2 separate regions of the Homo sapiens genome follow, and region 2 is linked to region 1. The links are contacts of gene promoters, found by promoter capture Hi-C in blood cells and fetal thymus (Javierre and others, 2016). All regions are on one chromosome and are shown on one strand. The core of a region is centred on a gene start or on the middle of the fragment in contact, and the rest is flanking DNA. Distances in the headings are between cores, read along the strand shown. Region 1 holds the start of TECPR1 (tectonin beta-propeller repeat containing 1). Region 2 has its middle 26 kb from the start of TMEM130.

Evidence for each region. The method cuts DNA at HindIII sites, captures the fragments that hold promoters and counts their contacts. A CHiCAGO score of 5 or more calls a contact.
Region 2: a fragment that was not itself captured here is called in contact with the fragment with the promoter of TECPR1 in region 1 in 1 of 17 cell types (megakaryocytes); the score reaches 5.7 in megakaryocytes.

Annotation. Positions count from the first base shown.
Region 1 is chr7:98,249,770-98,253,725 of GRCh38, reverse strand. TECPR1 (tectonin beta-propeller repeat containing 1) reads left to right here and starts at 1,494. Exons shown (of 26, transcript NM_015395.3): 1 at 1,494-1,600; 2 at 2,178-2,332. It overlaps LOC124901706 (a long non-coding RNA gene), which reads right to left and starts at 1,367. Exons shown (of 2, transcript XR_007060448.1): 1 at 1,198-1,367; 2 at 1-842. RefSeq lists silencers at 1,208-1,307, 1,398-1,787 and an enhancer at 1,104-1,847. The HindIII fragment of the contact is 5,193 bases long and covers 1,064-3,956 here.
Region 2 is chr7:98,841,741-98,845,935 of GRCh38, reverse strand. No RefSeq gene overlaps it. Among named protein-coding and RNA genes, the nearest start is that of TMEM130, 26 kb to the left of the region's middle. RefSeq lists an enhancer at 4,052-4,101. The HindIII fragment of the contact is 5,036 bases long and covers 1-4,195 here.

The DNA of each region.
Region 1 (3,956 bases), core at 245-2,744:
GCACCCTGATCTTCCTCTGAGGAGCCACCCCCTGTGCCTGGCTGAGCCCTTATGCTTGAGGGGGGCTCTGCCCACATCTCCAGACCAAGTCCACAAATGCCAGTCCCTCAGGCCCAAGCTAAAGTCAGGGTCAGACACAGGACTCCACAGAGCCATCCGGGGTGAACAAGAGGCTTCTGGGGGCGTTTTCTTCCACTGGAGCTGGCCTGTGTGGGGCTTCCCCAAACATGAAGGCCCAGGAAAAGCCTGTGTGCAACCCCAGAAATGAGACAGAACTAGAGGGGGAGCAGGAATAGGTCCCTAGGTCCAACCAGGTGACATTGGTTTAGCTCAATGTCGGGTAGTATCTAGCCTTCCATCAGATGCCCTTTTTTTTCTTTTTTGAGAAGGAGTTTTGCTCTTGTCGCCCAGGCTGTAGTGCGGTGGCACAGTGGCACGATCTCAGCTCACTGCAACCTCCACCTCCCCAGTTCAAGCGATTTTCCTGCCTCAGTCTCCCGAGTAGCTGAGATTACAGGCATGCGCCACCACCCCTGGCTAATTTTGCATTTTTACTAGAGACGGGGTTTCACCATCTTGGCCAGGCTGGTCTCAAACCCCTGACCTCAAGTGATCCGCCCGCCTTGGCCTCCCAAAGTGCTGGGATTACAGGTATGAACCGCCGCACCTGGCCGACATCTTTCTTTTTTCTCCTTTCTCCATCCTAACCTTGCCAGTTTTCTGCCAGGCGGGATACAGTGTTTTCAAATCCCAGTTCCATCGCTTACAACGTGAGTCGCTCCATCTCTGAGCCCGTGTTCGCATTTGTAAAATGGGAATGACGCCGCCAGCTCTTTGGGTTGCTGGGAGGATGAAATGAGAAGACCCAAGTAAAGCACTTACGTCAGTGCCCGCCACCCCGGGAGGACTCGCATATTACTATTAATATATTAGGCCAGCTTACACTGGGTTTTGTCACTGACAATAGAGTTTGAGCAATCCAGGGCCTGTTACTGACACCACACCATGCTATAGTCACAAAATCACATATGCTTCCAGGACTCCTCCTCGAAAGAGTAAAGCTTTAAGTGTAGTGTGTGCTCAAGGGCTACGTTTCAGTTCGATGGATACCAGGAAGACACCTGTTCCCTGCGTCCTCTCCACGCCCCAGGCCGGGCGCCCACACCCTGCTCCTCCTGACGCCGCACAGCCACGCACCCAGGTACCCTCTCCGCCACCCCTTCTCCTCGCCTGCAGGCGGTGTCCACACCGCCCTCTCCGCTCCTGCAGACCGGGTCCTGGAGGGCGGCCGGGCGGTCCACGGGCCGGTGTCGCGCCGCCAGAGAGAACGCGGCAACTCGCTTCAGCCGACTCTGGACTCCTGACCTGGCGCGACCCCGGAAGTGGGCGGGCGCGCGACCTCGAAGCCAGCACCGACGCGGCGCACCGCAGCCAATCGCACGTCCCAGGTCGCAGCGTCCTGGCGAGGCTGGCCAATGGGCACGGGGCCTGATGCCGCTTCCGGCCCACCCTCTTGCCCGGTCCCCGGGAGGGCCGGTCCGCTCCTCCCGGACGCCGAGGACCTACCACCGCGACTTCGCCCCGCCCGGCGCGGGCCCAGGTGAGTGCAGAGTGGCGCCCCAGCTGCAGCGGCGGCCAGGGCCGTGGGAAAGAATGGGGCGATGAAGGGCTGGGCACGCCGCCTTCCCCACCACCCCCAGGCTGTTTGCTCGCGGGGAGGGAGGAAGGAGGGACCGCACTTGTCATCTCGCCTGCACACCTGGAAGGTGCCGCCCCCGTCCCCTGCCCTGGAACGCCCACAGGCTAGCGAAGTTGCCTGGTGCAGGTGACGCCCCCATTCCAGCCTTTGGACTGGAGCCATAGGAGAAGCGGATCGCGGGATCCTGGTTGTTTTCGAGAATCACGCAGCAAGGGGCCTGCCTATCCCTCTCCCTGGGTATTGATGGGAGCAAATCTGCTTGTCGTAAGATTAGCTTTGGCAGATGGTCAGGGCCCAGAGCTCCGACATATGCTACTGGTGGCAGTGCAGGGGCCCCACCTGTCACCCAAGTGCACAGCACTGGGCTGAACGCCAGGCTGACTCAGGACACCTCCTGCCCGGTGGGGCTGGGCGGACCCTATTCTTCAGGAAAGAATCAACTACCATGCAAGTTCTGCTGCTTTTTCCCACCTTTTAGGACCCTGATGTCGCTTTTGAACAGCCCCTGCACCTGGCAGCCAGCGAGCTACTGTAGTAGGCATTGCCGACTGTTTGCATACCGGATGGGAGTGACAGTGTAATAGAAAAACAAGCAAGAAACCTTTTAGGTAGGACTCCTAAGGCTCAGAGGAAGTAAGTGCTTGCGGAGCGTTCTTTGTACTGTGTCTTTTCCTCTACCACATCTCTGTCCCCGCCTCTCTTGGGTGCTTTTTTTGGTCTCTGAAAGGATCTGTGAATAAACTGAGACAGAAAGGCAGATGGCTTTGAGGGTGGCGAGCAGACCTTCTTCGTGGAAAGACTGAAGGTTCAACTCAAATTCATCTTGTAGAAATTCTTGGTGAATTCGAGGCTGCTGATTTGGAAGATTTTCCTCCATCCCTCTAACCCTACAAAACAAACAAGTCCCAGGATCCCTGAATCATGGGGCTTCATGTTCCAACCCCCCTTTCAAGAGTCCTCTGACCCAGTGACCCTGTGTAAGTTGCCTGATCAGCTCACAGCCAGAAAGTGGCCCATGAGGAGCTAGGGGGAGCCTCTTGGCAGAGGCAGAAAGAAAGTGTGGCTGACCAAGGATGGTTACCGGATGTCAACTGTAGCTAGGAAGTGACGACAGGTGCCTGGGTCTCTACTCTGAAGGGAGTTTGTAAATACAGCAACCCCCCACCCCTCCCTTTCACTGTAGCAGAGTCTTCTCCCATTAACTGCCCAGAAGATTCAATGATGTCTATGAGGAAATTAGTGCTTAGTCATTTATTTGAAGGAAAGTCAAAATCTCCTTTCATTGAGCTCAACCTGCAGACTGAGTCTAGCTAAACTGCTTGCTTATCCAGTGAATTCTGAGCTATCTTTGTTTTGTTGTTGTTGTTGTTGTTGTTTGTTTTCCTTTTTGAGACAGGGTCTCGCTCTGCTGCCCAGGCTGGAGTGCAGTGGCACAATCATAGCTCACTGTAGCCTCAAACTCCTGGGCTCAAGTGATCCTCCTGCCTCAGCCTCCCAAGTAGCTAGGATCACAGGCATGTGCCACCACACCTGGCTAATTTTTTTTTTAACTTTTTATTTTTACAGAGATGGGGTCTCCCTGTGTTGCTTAGGCTGGTTTTGAACTCCTCGGCTCAAGCGATCCTCCCACCTCAGCCCCGGAAAGGGCTGGGATTACAGGCATGAGCTACTGCACCTGGCCTCTGAGCTATCTTTGAAGGCTAACTTATATTTAACACTATAGAAAGTGACAATTAAAAAAAAAAACCTTCGTCTTCCCCTAGCATTTTATTGAGGATTTTCCCACATACAGCCAAGTTGAAAGAATTATACAGTCAGCATCCCCATCCCCACCAACTAGATTCTACTATTGACACTTTACTTGCTTTATCACATATCTGTCCACCAATTATGACCTTACTTTTCAAGTTATTTGTGGCATTTGTTTTCCCTGGAGAAGTATTTCTGTCTTAGATCAGGGAGTTGGCAGTGTGTTGGAGGTAGGTGGTGGTGATTATCCTTAAATGTTGTTTCAACACCCACTGTGTGCAGAGACTATTATGGAAATGAAGAGGCTGAAGACTCAGACCTGAAAGGGACTTGGTTTTTTGTTTTTCTTTTTTTTTTTTTGAGATGGAGTCTTGCTGTGTTGGCCAGGCTGGAGTGTGGTGACACGATCTTGGCTCACTACAATCTCCTCCTACCAGGTTCAAGCGATTCTCCTGCCTCAGCCTCCCAAGCCGGCTAATTTTTGTAGTTTTAGTAGAGACGGGTTTCA
Region 2 (4,195 bases), core at 688-3,187, 590 kb before region 1:
TCACTGCAACCTCTGACTCCCTAGTTCAAGCAATTCTCCTGCCTCAGCCTCTCAAGTAGCGGGGATTACAAGCACGTGCCACCATGCCCGGCTAATTTTTGTATGTTTAGTAGAGATGGGGTTTCACCATCTTTGGCCAGGATGGTCTTGATCTCCTGACCTTGTGATCTGCCCTCCTCGGCCTCCCAAAGTGCTGGGATTACAGGTGTGAGCCACCACACCTGGCCTTATTTATTTTTATTTACTTATTATTTCTTTTAGACAGAGTCTCTCTGTCATCCAGGCTGGAGTGCAGTGGCACGATCATAGCTCACTGCAGCCTCGACCTCCTGGGCTCAAGTGATTCTCCCACCTCAGCCTCCTGAGTAGCTGGGACTATAGGTGCATGCCACCATCCATGGCTAATTTTCTGCTTATTTTTTGTAGAGATGAGGCTCCACTATCTTGCCCAGGCTGGTCTCAAACTCCTGAGCTCAAGTTATCCTCCTGCCTTGGCCTCCCAAAATGTTGGGGTTACAGGCGTGAGCCACCGCACCCAGCCCTGAGTTTTTTGTTTTGTTTTGTTGAGACAGAGTCTTGCTCCAAGGCTGGAGTGCAGTGGCACGATCTCGGCTGTCTACAATCTCTGCCTCCCGGGTTCAAGCGATTCTCCTGCCTCAGCCTCCTGAGTAGTTGAGACTACAGACACCCACCACCCCACCCGGCTAATTTTTGTATTTTTAGTAGAGATGGGGTTTCACCATGTTGGCAAGGCTGGTCTTGAACTCCTGACCTCGCATGATCCACCCGCCTCGGCCTCCCAAAGTGCTGGGATTACAGGTGTGAACCACCGCGCCTGGTCCCGTTGCTGTTGTTTTAAGCCACCTAGTTCGTGGTACTTTGTTTCGGCAGCCCCAGGAAACAGACTTCCCCACGTCATTTTCGGCAGCTCCGTCTCTCACATTTCATATCCATCCTGTGAGAAATCCTTCAACTGAGATCCAGAATCTGACCGCTGCTCCCTCCTCCCCTGCTGCCACCACCCTGGTCCCTGGCAGGGCTCTCATAATGCCTGGCAGCTCCTGCTCACCCCTCACTGAGCCAGAAGTTTGTCCACAAAACTGCTCCAAGACCACATCTTCCTCTGCCCCAAACCCTTCAGTGTCTCCCTTCTCAGAGCAAACCCCAAATCCTTCTGGTGGCCTCCCAAATCCCTGTCCAACCTGGCCTGTGACCTTGTCACCCCCAGCCCCTGCTGCTTGTCTGGCTGGGTCTTTCCCGAGTTGTTCCCTTTGCCGGGCAGGATGCTGTTTCCTGGACACGTGTGGGGTTCCCTCTCTGCTCCTTCACGGCTGTTCAAACATCACCTTCATCTGTGAGGTCAACTTGGCACTCTCCTCTCCTACCTGCCCTTATACTCATGGCATATGTCACCTTCTAACATACTATTTATTTATTTATTTATTTTTTTGAGATGGAGTCTTGCTCTGTCGCCCAGGCTGGAGTGCAGTGGTGCGATCTTGGCTCACTGCAACCTCTGCCTCTCAGAGTCAAGTGATTCTCCTGCCTCAGCCTCCCAAGTGGCTGGAATTACAGGCACCCACCACCAGGCCTGGCTAATTTTTTTGTAATTTTAGTAGAGACAGGGTTTTGCCATGTTGGCCAGGCTGGTCTCAAGTGATCTGCCCGCCTCGGCCTCCTAAAGTGCTGGGATTACAGGCATGAGCCACCACGCTTTGCCTAACATACTATTAATTTATTTATTTTAAAATTTATTTGTACTTTTTTTTTTATAGAGACAGGGTCTTACTCTGTCACCCAGGCTGGAGTGCAGTGGTGTAATCATAGCTCACTGCAGCCCCAGCCTCCCTGGCTCAAGCAATCCTCCCATCTCAGCCTCCCAAGTAGCTGAGACCGCAGGAGCCCACCCCCATGCCCAGCTAATTTTCAAAAATTTTTCGTAGAGATGGGGTCTTGCTATGTTGCTGAGGCTAGTCTGGAACCCTTGGTCTCCAGGGATCCTCCTACCTCGGCCTCCCAAAGTGCTGGGATTACAGGCATGACCCACTGCAGCTGGCCTTAACTTATTTATTTAATCTGAGCCTTACATGGTATATAAACTTGAAGAAAGAAAGGATTTTGCCTATTTTGTTCACTATTTCTACTTCTAACACCCAGAATACTACCCAGCACATAGCAGGTGTTCATTAAATATTGTTGAAAGGAAAGAGGGATGGCGTGAGGAAGGGAGAAAGGGTTACTTCCTCACACTTGTGTTGTAACCTCACAATGACTGGAATTAGGGGAGGGAACACAAGACTCTAAGGAACAAACTCAATGTCTGTCCAGACTGTCCAGAAGACCCCATAGGTCAGGACAAATGGCCCGGAAGCCCTGGTGTGAGACGTGGTGATGTCCAGGTGTCAGGAGGCAGGGGCCTCCCTCCCTGAATCCTGGAGAGAGGGACTGCGGTGTGGGCCCCTTCTGGCATGGCGGCCTCTTGGACATCAGATCGGGCAATTATCCATCCTTGGAGCAGAAAGCCACTGGCCTGGCTTCTGAGAGTGGTGCCTTGTTCTGTGTTGAGGAGGAAAGGTCAGAGGCTGGAGGCTGGGAGAGCAGGTGGGCTGTAGACAGTGTGGCAGGGGCTGAGGGAGCAAGCTAAGCTGGGTCCCATGTGGTAGTGGGCCAACGGGCCGAGGAGGCTCCAGGGTCATCAGGCAGGGAATGGGTCAGAGTCTCTTAAACTGAGCTACCCTAATCCCCAAGGGATCCATGGAGAGCATTGAGGTACTTGGATGGGAAAAATTACATCTTTATTTATGTATTTGTTTAGAGACAGGGTCTTGCTCTGTCCCCCAGGCTGGAGTGCAGTAGTGTGATCACAGCTCACTGCAGCCTCGAACTCCTGGGCTCAAGCGATCCTCCCACCTCAGCCTCCCAAGTAGCTGGTACCACAGGTGTCCATTGCCACACCCAGCTGACTTTTAAATTTTCTGTTGAGACGGGGTCTTGCTATGTTGCCCAGGCTGGTCTCAAACTCTTGGCCTCAAGCAATCCTCCTGCCTTGGCCTCTCAAAGTGCTGAGATTATAGGTGGCTAATTTTTTAAGAAAGTTTTTGTAGAGATAGGGGTCTTGCTGTGTTGCCCAGACTGGTCTTGAACTCCTGGCCTCAAGTGATCCTCCTGCCTTGGCCTCCCAAAGTGCTAGGATCACAGGTATAAGTCACCACACCTGGCTAATTAAAAAAAATTTTTTTTGTAAAGATGGGGTCTTGCTGTGTTGCCCAGGTTTGTCTCGAACTCCTGGCCTCAGGTGATCCTCTTGCCTCAGCCTCCTGAAGTGCTGGGATTATAGGTGTGAGCCAGTGTGTCCAGCACTATTTTATATTATGCTTTTGAAAACATTATTCTGAGAAGAGGGCTTGACTTGACTTAAAGGGGTTCATAGTGCCAAAAATTTCATCAGTAGGTGTTTTCCTTTATATAAAATTTCATCAGTAGGTGTTTTCCTTTATATATATATATATGTATGTATGTATGTGTGTGTGTGTATATATATATATATATTTATTTATTTATTTGTTGAGACGGAGTCTTGCTCAGTCACCCAGGCTGGAGCGCAATGGCGCGATCTCAGCTCACTACAACCTCTGCCTCCCGGGTTCAAGAAATTCTCCTGCCTCAACCTCCCAAGTAGCTGGGATTACAGGCACCCGCCACCATGCCCGGCTAATTTTTATATTTTTAGTAGAGACAGGGTTTCACTGTGTTAGCCAGGCTGGTCTTGAACTCCTGAGCTCAGGGTGATCCGCCCGCCTTGGCCTCCCAAAGTGCTGGGATTACAGGCCTCCCAAAGTGCTGAGATTACACCCTGTAAGTGTTTTCTAGAGAGGCCCACATAGGCAATGAGGGGTGATGGAGGACACTACTTTCTGGGGGCCTTAGAAGATCTAGGAGATGAAGTGCCAGGGCCCCAAGCCATCTGCATGCTGTGCCCAGTATGTCCAGCAGGTGGCAGTGTCTGACCGGCTATGCTTTCTGCAGGCTCCCAGCCTCTGCCAGGTGCACCGGGGGGCATGGCGGGCAGAGGGGCATGGATGGGCAGGGTCCTGGCATTGCAGCACCTGCCGACACACCTGCATGAACACACAGGCACACTGTACGCACACACATATACTCACATTCACATTGGTGAAACAGCCAAGCTGGCAAC